Linked DNA regions of Homo sapiens: all the other regions are linked to region 1. Evidence: promoter capture Hi-C in human tissues and cell types (Jung and others, 2019). All regions are on one chromosome and are shown on one strand. The core of a region is centred on a gene start or on the middle of the fragment in contact, and the rest is flanking DNA. Distances in the headings are between cores, read along the strand shown.

What was found. The method cuts DNA at HindIII sites, captures the fragments that hold promoters and counts their contacts. A contact is called where the count stands out against the background at its distance.
Region 2: a fragment that was not itself captured here is called in contact with the fragment with the promoter of MSANTD3 in region 1 in 1 of the 25 tissues and cell types used here (dorsolateral prefrontal cortex).
Region 3: a contact is called between a fragment that was not itself captured here and the fragment with the promoter of MSANTD3 in region 1, in 1 of the 25 tissues and cell types used here (dorsolateral prefrontal cortex).

What each region holds. Positions count from the first base shown.
Region 1 is chr9:100,425,284-100,429,552 of GRCh38, forward strand. MSANTD3 (Myb/SANT DNA binding domain containing 3) reads left to right here and starts at 1,860. Exons shown (of 3, transcript NM_080655.3): 1 at 1,860-2,110. RefSeq lists silencers at 1,697-1,926, 1,967-2,196, 2,237-2,356. The HindIII fragment of the contact is 14,283 bases long and covers 1-4,269 here.
Region 2 is chr9:101,391,758-101,396,026 of GRCh38, forward strand. All of the region lies in intron 1 of MRPL50 (mitochondrial ribosomal protein L50), which reads right to left. Among named protein-coding and RNA genes, the nearest start is that of MRPL50, 4.7 kb to the right of the region's middle. The HindIII fragment of the contact is 6,468 bases long and covers 1-4,269 here.
Region 3 is chr9:99,910,186-99,914,454 of GRCh38, forward strand. All of the region lies in intron 1 of STX17 (syntaxin 17), which reads left to right. Among named protein-coding and RNA genes, the nearest start is that of STX17, 5.7 kb to the left of the region's middle. The HindIII fragment of the contact is 3,702 bases long and covers 1-3,624 here.

The sequences.
Region 1 (4,269 bases), core at 610-3,109:
TATAATTTTAGTTTCCAGGCTCTCTGGACAATTTCAAGGCCTCCTGGACATCAGACAAATTATTGTTAAAATAATGAATGAGATGCCTGTAATCCCAGCACTTTGGGAGACTGAGGTGGGCAGATCACTTGAGGTCAGGAGTTCGAGACCAGCCTGGCCAACATGGCGAAATCCTGTCTCTACTAAAATTACAAAAATTATCCAGGAGTGGTGGCACATGCCTATAGTCCCAGCTACTTGGGAGGCTGAGGCAGGAGAATTGCTTGAACCCGGGAAGCGGAGGTTGCAGTGAGCCAAGATTGCACCATTGCACTCCAGCAGACTCTGTCTCAAAAAAAAAAAAAAAAAAAGAAAAGAAAAAGAATGAGGACCAGTATAGCTCTTAGTTTAGGGTCTTTATTTTTATTGGTGCTTCTGCCCTGGATTGTTTTTTGAGGGAAGAAAGAAAGGGTTGCGTGATTCTTTGTACATAGTGAAAACCTAGATCAGTTTTTACTTTAGGGCTATGGATAGTGGGAGTTGGGAGGGCAAGCAATAGTCTCAAAAATGTTCAAGGAATTAAAACACAAAAACGGAAAATTGCAAGTGTTGACAAGGTTGTGGAAACTTGGAACCCTCAAACATTGGTGATGGGAATGTAAAATGATTCATTCAGCTGCTGTGGAAAACTTTTTGGCAGTTCCTGGAAAAGTTAAACATAGAATTACCCTATGACCCAGAAAGTCCACTCCTAGGTATGTATCCAAAAGAACTGGGAACAGGTACTCAAATATGTGTACAGGCATGTTCAGAGCAGCACTATTCACAATAGCCAAAAGGTGGAAGTAACCCAAATATCTATCAAGGGATGAATGAATAAACAAATTATAATATACACATACAATGGGATATTAATCAGCCATAAAAAGGAATGAAGTACTGATCCACGCCTCAACATGGATGAATCTTAAATACAGGCTAAGTCAAAGAAACGACACAAAAGGCCGCATATTGTATGGTTGCATTTATATGAAATACCCAGAAAAAAGTAAACTCACAGAGATAGAAAATAGCTGAGTCGTTGCCAGGGTCTGGAGGAAGGAGGGACTGGGGAATTACTGCTTAATGGAGTATGGATGTTTCAGAACTAGATAGAAGTGGTTGCTCAACATTATGAATGTAATAAATGCCACCAAATCGTTCGCTTTTAAGTGGTTTATGTTATGCGAATTTCACCTCAAAAAAAAAAAAAGTTAAAAAGCCTTCTCTGCCTTTCTCTGGGGTTGGAGTCTTCCCAATGGATCCAGGGCAAAAGAAACATCCAGCCACTCTGTTTGCGGGAGGAGCAAAGGGTGGCTTGTCCCGACAGTTTGAGCTGTTGTGCATGCATTTACACACGCATTAATTCCAAATGAGTCAGCACAGTGTCCGAGACAGGTCCTGGGCTCCAGTGAGCACAGTCGCTCTCCTGGGGGAGGCACGTTCCACAAATTAACAGAAGTTCTGATAAACTCAGCATAGGGGGATTCGCTGTCCCAAGTATCAAGGAGTCCTAAAAGAAAAGGGCCTATTTCAGTCGGGGGACCTGGACTGAACTAACTCGTGTTCATGGCCGCCAAATCCCGTGTGACAAATGTATTCTTTTGTTGTTCATAGAAATAAAACAGTTTTTCGGGCCGCTTCAGGAGCTCCTCTGCAAAGGTGGGGAAAAAAGGCAACTAAATCAGCACGAGGACGTCAGCCCGAGGATGTCAGGAGCGGGGTCGGTGCGGACGGGCAGGTGGGCGGGGGGGCACCCCGCGCCCCGCCCCAGTCCCCTGGAGGCCGGCGGCCGCAGCTCGGGGAAGTGGGGACTGGCGCGGGGCCGCGCTCCCGCCCTCCTCGGCGGCGCCGACGGACCGGCAGGCGGCGGGCGGTCCGCGAGGGGGCGGCGGCGTCCGGGCTTTGTGGCCGCGGCGCGCGCGGCGGGGCCTGGCCGGCCGGGGGCGCGCCGCCGCCGCCGCCGCCGCCCGGCGTTCGGGAGCCCGCGGCCCTCCCGGCCGCCCTGCTTGCGAGAGGAGCCCAGGCCGCCCGCCCTCGCGCCTCGCCGGCCCCTCCCCCGGTCGCCGCGGCTGCCGCGCCGCCGCTGCAGGTAGGAGGCTCCCCTTCCGGGCGGGCCGCAGCCGGGCGGGGGCGGGGGTGGGGGGCGCGGGCCGGGCGTAGAGGGGGCCGGGGGCCGGCATGGAGGGTTTTCGGGCCGAGCCGCTGCGACCCCGGCCTTGCAGGCTGGGCGCCGGGCGGCCGCCTCTGCGCGCCGCGATGGGACTCGGTGAGTAGGGCCGGCCTGCTGCCTACAAAGCCCCGGGGCGCGGGCCTCTGGGGTACTCAGTGGCGCGCCCACGGCTGGGAGCGGGGTGGGCTTTGGACTCCCGGGCTCGGGGAGCTGCTCGGGGGGAATCCAGGTGACCTGCAGTACCGCGGTCTTCCCATCCCGGCGTCCCCACTGTGTGCTGATCACTGTGCTCGGCGCTTTTCCATACTTGTCTCCTTTAAGACCTCCAGTGCCCCGCCCGTCCAGAGTGTAACGGGAGGGATCCCTCACTTGCAGGATGAAGGCCGAGCATCACATCCTTGCTTGACTGACCTTGGGAAAGCTCCTTTACTCCGAGCCGGGGCTACTGTTTCTGTAAATTAGAGGCGGGGGTCGGGGGGGCGTGGTATAATATCTACCCTCAGGTACTATTGTGAAAGATAATGTATGTAAATGATAACAGCTAAATTTTGAGCACTCTGTATGTACCAGGCCCTAGGTACTAAACAGTTGGCATGAATTATCATTGAATCATCACCCTGGCGCTGTGAGGTAGTTACTGTAAATTGCATGAATAATCTTTATTTAGGAGTACGAAACAGTGAAGAATTTAGTCTCCCTATTCCGATTCAGGAGGTTGGGTATTTCTTAGGCGTGATAACATTTAACATTACAGACGTTCCTGCAGTATCGAGGAGAGTAGTTATAGGATGCAGGGATATATTTGTCATACATTTAAAACTGGAGGTAGGATAATATCAGGGCCAGAGAGTGTGCCTTTCAGCATGTCAGAGCAGATGATTGTATTCCAAGGAAATTGCTGAATATTAATTAAAAAACATAGTTTCTGAGTTAGGATTGAGGATGGCTGTGGGAGTCCAGGGCCAGAGAGAGACATGGGATGGACAAGGGGGAGAAGAAGGATTCTGAAGTCCTGGAGGAAGATGTAGAGGAAGGCACCAGGGTTCACCATCCCTCCCCTGCAGCATTGCTGGGCCAGATTTCATCCCTCCCGTAGAGACCCGGGCTAGGGGACAAAGGCTGCTGGGGCAGGGGGTGGGGAGGGATGTTATAGGTTGTCTCTTTTTACTCCCAGGCCGCCAAAAATATTCAGATTGATGGAGGGTCAGGTGATTGGGCCTCCTAAAATGCCATTATCCCTTCTCACAAAATTCTTGTGTTTCAGGGCATGGGGATGCTTGCCAGCCCTAATGGTTGATGAGATGCTTAAAATACAAAGGTCTCACTGATATAATGGAAGAGTGCATTTTCAACACCATTCACTGGGTTAGAGAAGTAATGGGCCTGAGGAGATTATTTTGGGTTTAGAATGGGGAGAACTAAAAAGGCTTTGGATCCTGAAGAAGGAAGAGAGGCAGGAAGGGCCCAGGCACTGCACCTGTGGGGAAAGGCAGGAGAAGAAGGAGCTGAGGACTTCACCCCACCATCTGCAGAATACCCAACAGGCTGTTCAGTTCTCAGCTACCAAGGGGGCACCCTTTCCTCTCCCAGTTGGTGATGATTTGTTAACGTATTGTGGAAGATCAAGGGCTGGACTCAGGCACTCCTGTCCTGAGTGAGTAGGAAAGACGTCTGGGAGAAGGGTGGTTTATTTTGTTTTTAACCAGGCATTGAAGCAGAGAGTAGGTGGGTACGTAGCGATGGTGAAGGTAGGGAACATCATGCATACTTGGAAGAGCAATTGCTTTGGAGAGATAGACAGTTTGGGGTTTGAATCCTAGCTCTGCCATTTCTTAGCTTTGTACATTTTTTGTGAGGATAAAATAATGTTTTTTCACATATCTGGCGTGCAGTTCAACAAGCACTAGTACCGTATTCCCTGTCCGTGATAACATTCATTCAACAAATGTCTGCTGAGCACCAGTCATGTGCTGAGTCATATGTTACATCCTGGGGATACAGCGATGAGTCAGAAATTATGTATTCCCCTAGGAATTTCCCAGTCCAGTGTGGGAGATGGACGCAAAGAGCAAATTGCA
Region 2 (4,269 bases), core at 1,126-3,625, 970 kb after region 1:
TCAATAACAGACAGATCATCCAGACAAAATCAACAAAGAAAGACTGGAATTACATTCTACACCAAATGGACTTGACACTTAGAGAACATTTCACCCAACTGCTGCAGAATACATATTCTTCTCATGAGTACATGGTACATTCTCCAGGGTAGACTGTATCATAGAACACAAAACAAGTTTTAACAAATTCATAAAACTCAAAATCATATCAAGGACTTTTCTAACGACAATGAAATATAACTAGAAATCAATAACAAGAACTCTAGAAACTATACAACTACATAAAAAATAACATGCTCCCAAATGACCAATGAGTCAATGATGAAATTAGGAAGGAAATTTTAAAACGTCTTGAAGCAATAAAAATGAAAACACAACACATCAAAACCTATGCGATACAGCAGAAGCAGTAGTAAGAGGGAAGCTTATAGTAATAAACATCTACATGAAAAAAGAAAAACTTCACATAAACAATCTAAAGATGTACCTTAAATTAGAAAAAGACAAACCAAATCCAAAATTAGTAGAAGGAAAGAAATAAGATCAGTGTAGAAATAAATAAAATAGACTAAAAAAGCAATAAAAAGATCAATGAATTAAAAAGTTGGTTTATTGAAAAGTTAAAATCAACAAACCTTTAGCTAGACTAAAAAAAACAGAGAAGACACAAATACATAAAATCAGAGGCAAAAAAGGAGATATTACACTGATATCACAAAAATTTAAAGGCTAATTAGAGATTGTTACAAGCAACTATAAGTCAATAGATTGGAAAACCTAGAAGAGATGGATTAATTCCTAGACACGGACAACTTACCAGGATTGAATCACGAAGAAAAAGAAAACCCAAACAGAAATAATGAGAAAGAGGCTGTAATAAAAGTCTCCCATCAAAGAAAAGCTTAAGACCTGATGGCTTCACTACTGAACTCTAGCAAGCATTTAAAGAAGAACTAATGCCAATCAATACGAATTCTACCACAGCTATTCCAAAACACTGAAGAGGAGAGAATACTTCCAAACACACTCTACAAGGCCAGCATTACCCTGAGGCCAAAACCAGACAAAGACAAAATAAAAAAGGAAAACACATTCTACAAGACCAGCATTACCCCGATACCAAAATCAGACAAAGACAAAATAAAAAAGGAAAACTACAGTTCAATATTCCTGATGAGCACAGATGCAAAAACCCTCAACAAAACATTAGCAAGCAGAATTAAACCACACATTAAAATGATCATTCACCATGATCAAGTGGGATTCATCCCAGAATGCAAGAATGGTTCAACATATGCAAATCAACAAATTCGATACATCACATTGATAGAATCAAGAACAAGAATCATGTGATCATTTCAATAGATGCTGAAAAAGCATTTCATACATTTCAACATCCTTTCATGATAAAAACTCTCAATAAACTGGATACTGAAGGAACATACCTCAACATAATAAAGGTCATGCATGACAAACCCACCAAACAAGGACACAAAACAAGCTAGCATCATTGAATGGGAAAAAACTCAAAGCCTTTCCTCTAAGATCTTGAACAAGACAAGGATGCTCACTTTCATCACTTGTATTCAACACAGAACTTGAAGTCCTAGCCACAGCAATTAGACAAGAGAAAGAAATAAAGTACATCAAAATTGAAAAGAAGTCAAATTGTTCTTATTTGATATATGATCTTACGTATCATACGTAAGATATATGATCTTATGTATCATACGTAAGATATATGATCTTATATATCTTGTTGATATATGATCTTGTATTTAGAAAAACCTAAATATCCACCAAAAAAACTCTTAGAAATTATAAATTCAGTAAAGTTTCAGAATACAAAAATCAACATACAAAATCAGTAGCATTTCCATATGCCAATAGTAAACAATCTGAAAAAGAAATCAAGAAATCAATTCCATTAACAATAGCCACACACACAAAAAATCTAGGAATAAACTTCAACAAAGAAGTAAAAGGTCTCTACAATAAAAACTATAAAACACTGATGAAAAAAATTGAAGGGGACACACAAAAAATGGAGATATCCCACGTTCATGGATTGGGAGAATTGATGTTGTTGAAATGCTTATGCTACCCAAAGCGATATACTGTCAATGTAATCTTTATCAAAATACCAATGACGTTCTTCACAGAAATAGAAAAAAAAATCCTAAAATTCGTATGAAACCACAAAATGCCTTGAATAGCCAAAGTAATGCTAAGCAAAAAAAAAAAAAAAAAAAAAAGACCACACCTAACTGACCCCACCTTGCTTCTAACCTTTAAGCTGTCCTTGTTCATTCCTGGGCATAGGCCAAACTAACCTTGGGAAGGAAATGAGTTTACAGTTTGACTCTGAAACAAAATTGGTAATAGCCTTTTTCTGAAAAGACCTCCCTCTTGCCTGGGAACCAGTTTGCTTTTGTAGGACTAACAAATTAGCTACAAGATTAGAAATTATGGTTAGGGGTCATTCAGACTCCGGCTGCAAGAGTCTGATCCTCCCCAAATTGCTCCTGGGATAACACTGCTATTGTAAAATTCAAGGTCAGTGCTTGAGATATTTTGCAGACCCTGCACTCAATGGATTAGCTTACACCACCAAAGCCGGTAATCTGGCTCAATCAGTTCTGTGATCCCACCCAGGATCATAAGTTGGCAAGAACTCACTTAGACCCCCTATGATTTCATTTCTAACCCAACCAATCAACACTCCCCATTTCCTAGGCCCCTACCTGCCAAATTATCTTTAAAACCTCCGATTCCCAAGTTTTCGGGGAGACAGATTTGACTAATAATAAAACTCCAGTATCCTCACAGCTGACTCTGCGTGAATTACTCTTTCTCCATTGCAATTCCTCTGCCTTGATACATCAGCTCTGTCTAGGCAAAGTGAACCCGTTGGGCAGTTACAAAATTATAACCCTACTAGAAGAAAACATTGGGGAGATGCTTCAGGACATTGGTCTGGGCAACGACTTCTTGAGTAAGACCTCAAAAGCACAGGCAATAAGAACAAAAATAGACAAATGGGATTATACTAAACTAAAAAGCTTCTGTGTAGAAGAAAACATTGGGGAGATGCTTCAGGACTTTGGTCTGGGCAATGACCTTTTGAGTTAAGACCTCAAAAGCACAGGCAACAAGAACAAAAATCAACAAATGGGATTATATCAAACTAAAAAGCTTCTGCATAGCAAAGGCAACAATAAACAAAGTGAACAGGCAACCTAGAGAATAGGAGAAAAATTGGCAAACTATCCAACAAGGGATTAATAACCAGAATATACAAGGAACCCAAACAACTCAGTAACAACAACAAAAAAAACCTGATTTAAAAATAGCAAAAGATCTGAATACATATTTCTCAAAGAAGATATACAATGACCAACAGGTATATAAAAAAAATGATCTCTAATCATCAGGGAAATGCAACTCAATAACACAATGAGGTATTATCTCACCTGAGTTAAAATGACTATTATTTAAAAGACAAAAAATAACAAATGCTGGCAAGGATGTAAAGGGGAATACCAGTACACTGTTGGTGGGAATGTAAATTAGTACAACTGCTATGGAGAAAAGCATGGAAATTTCCCAAAGAAATTAAAAATAAAATTACCATATGATCTGGCAATCCCACTGCTGGGTATACATCCAAAAGAAAGTTAATCAGTCTAACAGAGATATCTGTACTCCATGTTTATTACAGCACTATTCACAATAGCCAAGATATGGAATCAAACTAAGTTTCTACCAATGGATGAATGGATATTAAAAAAACCGTACATATACTCAATGGAATATTATTCAGCCATTAAAAAAGGATGAAATCCTGTCATTTGCAGTAACATGGATGAAACTGGAGGACACTCTTTAGTGAAATAAGCCAGGTGCAGAAAGACAGATATCGCATGTTCTCGCTCCTATGTGTGAACCAAAAAAAAAAAAAAGACCTCATGGAGGTAGTAATAAATTGATGGTTACCAGAGGCTGGGAAGGGTAGTGAGGAGGTAAGGTATGAAGACAGATTGGTTAGAAATACAGTTAAAAGGAGTAATACAGTTAGAGAAGAGGACTACAGCTAAAAAGAGTAAGTTCTAGTGTTTGATTTCACAATTGGGTGACTATAGTTAGTAGTAATTTATTTGTATTTCAAAATAGCTAGAAGTGAAGATTTAGAATGTTCCCAAAACAAAGAGATAAATAACGTGATGGATACGTCAACTATTCAGATTTGGCTATTACACATTGTATGCT
Region 3 (4,269 bases), core at 524-3,023, 520 kb before region 1:
TCGCACCACTTCACTCCAGCCTGGGCAAAAGAGTGAGACTCCGTCTCAAAACAAAAAAAAAGAAAAAAAAAAAAGAAATGCAAATGGCTGATAAATCCACCCTGTTAGTAATTTAAGGAATGCAAAGTAAAGCAATAATGAGACATCATTTTTTTCACCAATGACATGTCTAAGAATGATAATACTAAGTATATTGCTTGGAATATGGATAAATGGACATTGTGTTATGTTTCTGGTAGGAACATAATAGGCATAACCTTTTGTGGGATATGGCTATATATATGTTTTAAAAACCTTGAAAAATCTGTCTACCTAATAATTCTATTTCTAGATATTTATTTTTTATTTTTATGTTACTTTTTTCAATTAATACACAATAATTTTACATATTTATAGGATACATGTGATGTTTTGATACATACATACAATGTGTAATGATCAAATCAGGGTATTTGGGATATATATCATGTCAAACATTTATTATTTCTTTGTGTTAGGAGCACTTCAGATCTTCTAGCTATTTTGAAATATGCAATAAATTATTGTTAACTATAGCTACCTCACTGTGTTATTAAACATGAATAATGTATTCCTTCTATCTAACTGTATGTTTGTACCCATTAATCAACTTCTCTTCACCCCTCCTGCCCCTTCCCATCACTCTACTCTCTACCTCCAGGAGATCAACTTTTTTCCCCCTTTTTATTTAGAAATGGAGGTCTCATTATATTGCCCAGGCTGGCTTCTAATTTCTGGGCTCAAGTGATCCTCCTACCTCGGCTTCCTGAGTAGCTGGGAGTACAGGCTAGATGTTCCATCCATGTTGTTGTAAATGACAGGATTTCATTCTTTTTTTTTTTTTTCTCCCTAGACGGAGTCTCGCTCTGTTGCCCAAGCTGGAGTGCAGTGGTGAGATCTGGGTTCACCGCAACCTCCGCCTCCTGGGTTCAAGCGATTCTCCTGCCTCAGCCTCCGGAGCAGCTGGGAATACAGGTGCATGCCACCACGCCTGGCTAATTTTTTGTATTTTTTAGTAGAGACGGGGTTTCACCATGTTAGCCAGGATGGTCTCGATCTCCTGACCTGATCGGCCCGCCTCCACCTCCCAAAGTGCTGGGATTATAGGCATGAGCCATCGCGCCTGACCCATTCTTTTTTTTAATGGCTGAACGGTATTTCATTGTGTATATACACCACATTTTCTTTATCCAGTCATCCATTGACAGACACTTAGGTTGATTCCATATCTTGGCTATTGTGAATGCTGCTGCAATAAACATGGGGCTGTAGGTATCTCTTTGATATACTGATTTTTTTTCCTTTGGATAAATACCCAGTAGTGGGATTGCTGGATCATATGGTAGTTTTATTTTTAATTTTTTGAGAAGCCTCTGTACAGTTTTTCTTTCTTTTTTTGAGACAGGATCTCACTGTGTTGCCTAGGCTGTAGTGTAGTAGTAAGAACACTGTTTCTTGCAGGCTCACACTTTAGGGCTCAAGGGATCTTCCCACCTTGGTGTCACTGGGACTACAGGCACCCACCACCACACCCAGCTAATTTTTAAATTTTTCAGAGAAGAAGGATCTTGCTATGTTGCCCAGGCTGCCCTCAAACTCTTGGCCTCAAGTGATCCTCCTGCTTCAGCCTTCCAAAGTGCTGGAATTACAGCTATGAGCCAGCGTACCCAGCCCATACTGTTTTTCATAATGGCTGTACTAATTTACATTCCCACCAACAGTGTATAAGAGTCCTCTTTCTCGCCAGGCGTCGTGGCTCACGCCTGTAATCCCGGCACTTTGGGAGGCCGAGGCAGGTGGATCACCTGAGGTCAGGAGTTCGAGACCAGCTTGGCCAACATGGCAAAATCCCGTCTCTACTAAAAACAAAAAATTAGCTGGGCGTGGTGGCATGTGCCTGTAATCCCAGCTACTCAGGAGGCTGAGGCAGGAGAACTGCTTGAACCCGGGAGGCAGAGGTTGCAGTAAGCTGAGCTCGTGCCACTGCACTCCAGCCTGGGTGACAAGAGCGAAAATCTATCTAAAAAGAAAAAAAAAAAAAGAGGCCTCTTTTGCTACATCCTCACCAGCATTTGTTATTTTTTATCCGTTTGGTGATAGCTATTGTAACTGGGGTGAGATGGTATCTCATTGTGGTTTTTATTTGCATTTCCCTGATGATTAATGATGTTGAGCATTAAAAAAAATACCTTTTGGTCATTTGTATGTCTTCTTTTGAGAAATGTCTATTCAGATTCTTTGCCCACTTTTTAATGGAACTATTTGTTTCTTTGCTGTTGAGTTGTTTGAGTTTCTCATACATTCTAGATATTAGTCCCTTGTTGGATGACTAGTTGGCAAATATTTTCTCCCTTTATACAGGTTGTGTCTTTGTTGATTGTTTTAAAGAAATAATTATAGGCAGCAGTATGGATTTATGTGTAAGCAGGGTAATTACACTGTAGTTTATAATAGTGGAAAATTAGAAACAACCTAAATAGCCAATAATAGCCAATTTGTAAAATTGTGAAGCATCTACGTAATTATAGAAAATTATTTACATGGAAACATTTTTATTATACTTCATCACACTATTCAAAATAAATGTTTTATTTTCTTTGTTCTTTCATCCACCCATTTATTCTATCCGTTAACAGTTTATTCTATTCATTGCTCCTTGCTATTCCACTCCTTTGGGTTTATTTTCTTTATTGTTGAAATATTCCTTTAAGTACTTTTAATGAGGGGCTTGGTAATAAACTCTCTTAGTCCTTGTATGTCTGAAAATGATTATTTTGCTTTCATTTTAAATGATAATTTACCTGGGAATATACCAACTCTCTCAGCACTTTGAAGGTATTTCTGTCTTTTAATATCTTGCTTTTAAAAGCAATATATTATTGCTTTGTCAGTCTTTTATGTCTCATTTTTTTAATGATTCTTGTTCTTTAATGTTTTGCAATTTCCCTTCCATGTATTTAGGCAAATTTGGTTTCTTTTTAATGTATGCTACTTGAGGCTGATGTGCTTTTTCAGTTTGAGGTCTTACATTTTAATTATCAGTATATTCTCTTTGAATAATTCCTTCTTACTGTTTTCTTTGTTCTTTCTTTCTGGGACTTCTACTTGTTATTAAGCTTCTGATTTTATCCTTTATGTCTTTTATCTTCTTTTTTATACTTTTCATCTTTTTATTCCTCTGTGTTCTGAGTGATTTCTTCCAATCAATAATTGTTTCTTATCTATATAATTTACTGTTTAACACATCTTTTGAGATTTTCATTTCTAGAAGTTTTACTTGTTTTATATTCAGGCTGGCCTCTTACTGTTTCATAATATCTATTTTTTTAAAAGATTCTGTTCCTTTTTGGAATAGAATGTTTTTGGATATTTAAAAATATACTTACTTTAGTTTCTTTTTAAAATTATTTTATTATCTTTCGTCCATTAGGTATGAATTTTCCTGTTTTGTTGGGTCTGTGGATGGTCTCTTTTGGTAATGAATTTCTCCATATGTCCCCAGTTTCCATTCACTGTTGCACCTGTTTTACCCTCTTTGTTTTTGTACCTGGAGATTTTCCTTTTTGACTTTTGAGCCTTGTATCAAACATAAAAACCAAGTTACTAATGGGTAGGTATTGGAGGCAGTCTATATAACCAACACATCAAGATTTTCAACTGTGAAAGAAAGGGGATAAATATTTAATGTTTTGGGGATGATAGATCTCTGAGAATCCCTTGAAACAATGGACTCTATTCTCCAAAATAAACTATATTCACTTTTTTTTTCTTTTTTTTTTTTTGTAGAGATGGGATTTTGGCATGTTGCCCAGGCTGGCCATGAACTCCTGGGCTCAAGTGGTCCTCCCGCCTTGGCCTCCCAAAGTGCTGGTATTACAGACATGAGCCACCGTACCCGGCCCCTTCATTCACAATTTTTCATAAAGATTCAGTGGCTCCACAAAGTCTGTATGTGAATTCCTATCTTTATAGACCCTGGACTAAGACAGCATAACTCAGCAGTATTAACATACTCAACTTAAAATTTTTTAAACATGGGTGAGGTTGTGGCTAATGAAATGGCATGAAAGCATGGTGTACAATGGTGGCTTTCAAGCTTGGTTAAGCTGTGAAGCCCATTATTTATATAAGCTCTGATAAGCTCCAATTCATAAAATAGTTGTAAGTAAAGTTTCTACAACTGAAGTAGGGAGTGGAGTCCTGGAACCTACTCACCTCTAGCCCCTACGCTTGTACTCTGGCCCCAAATGC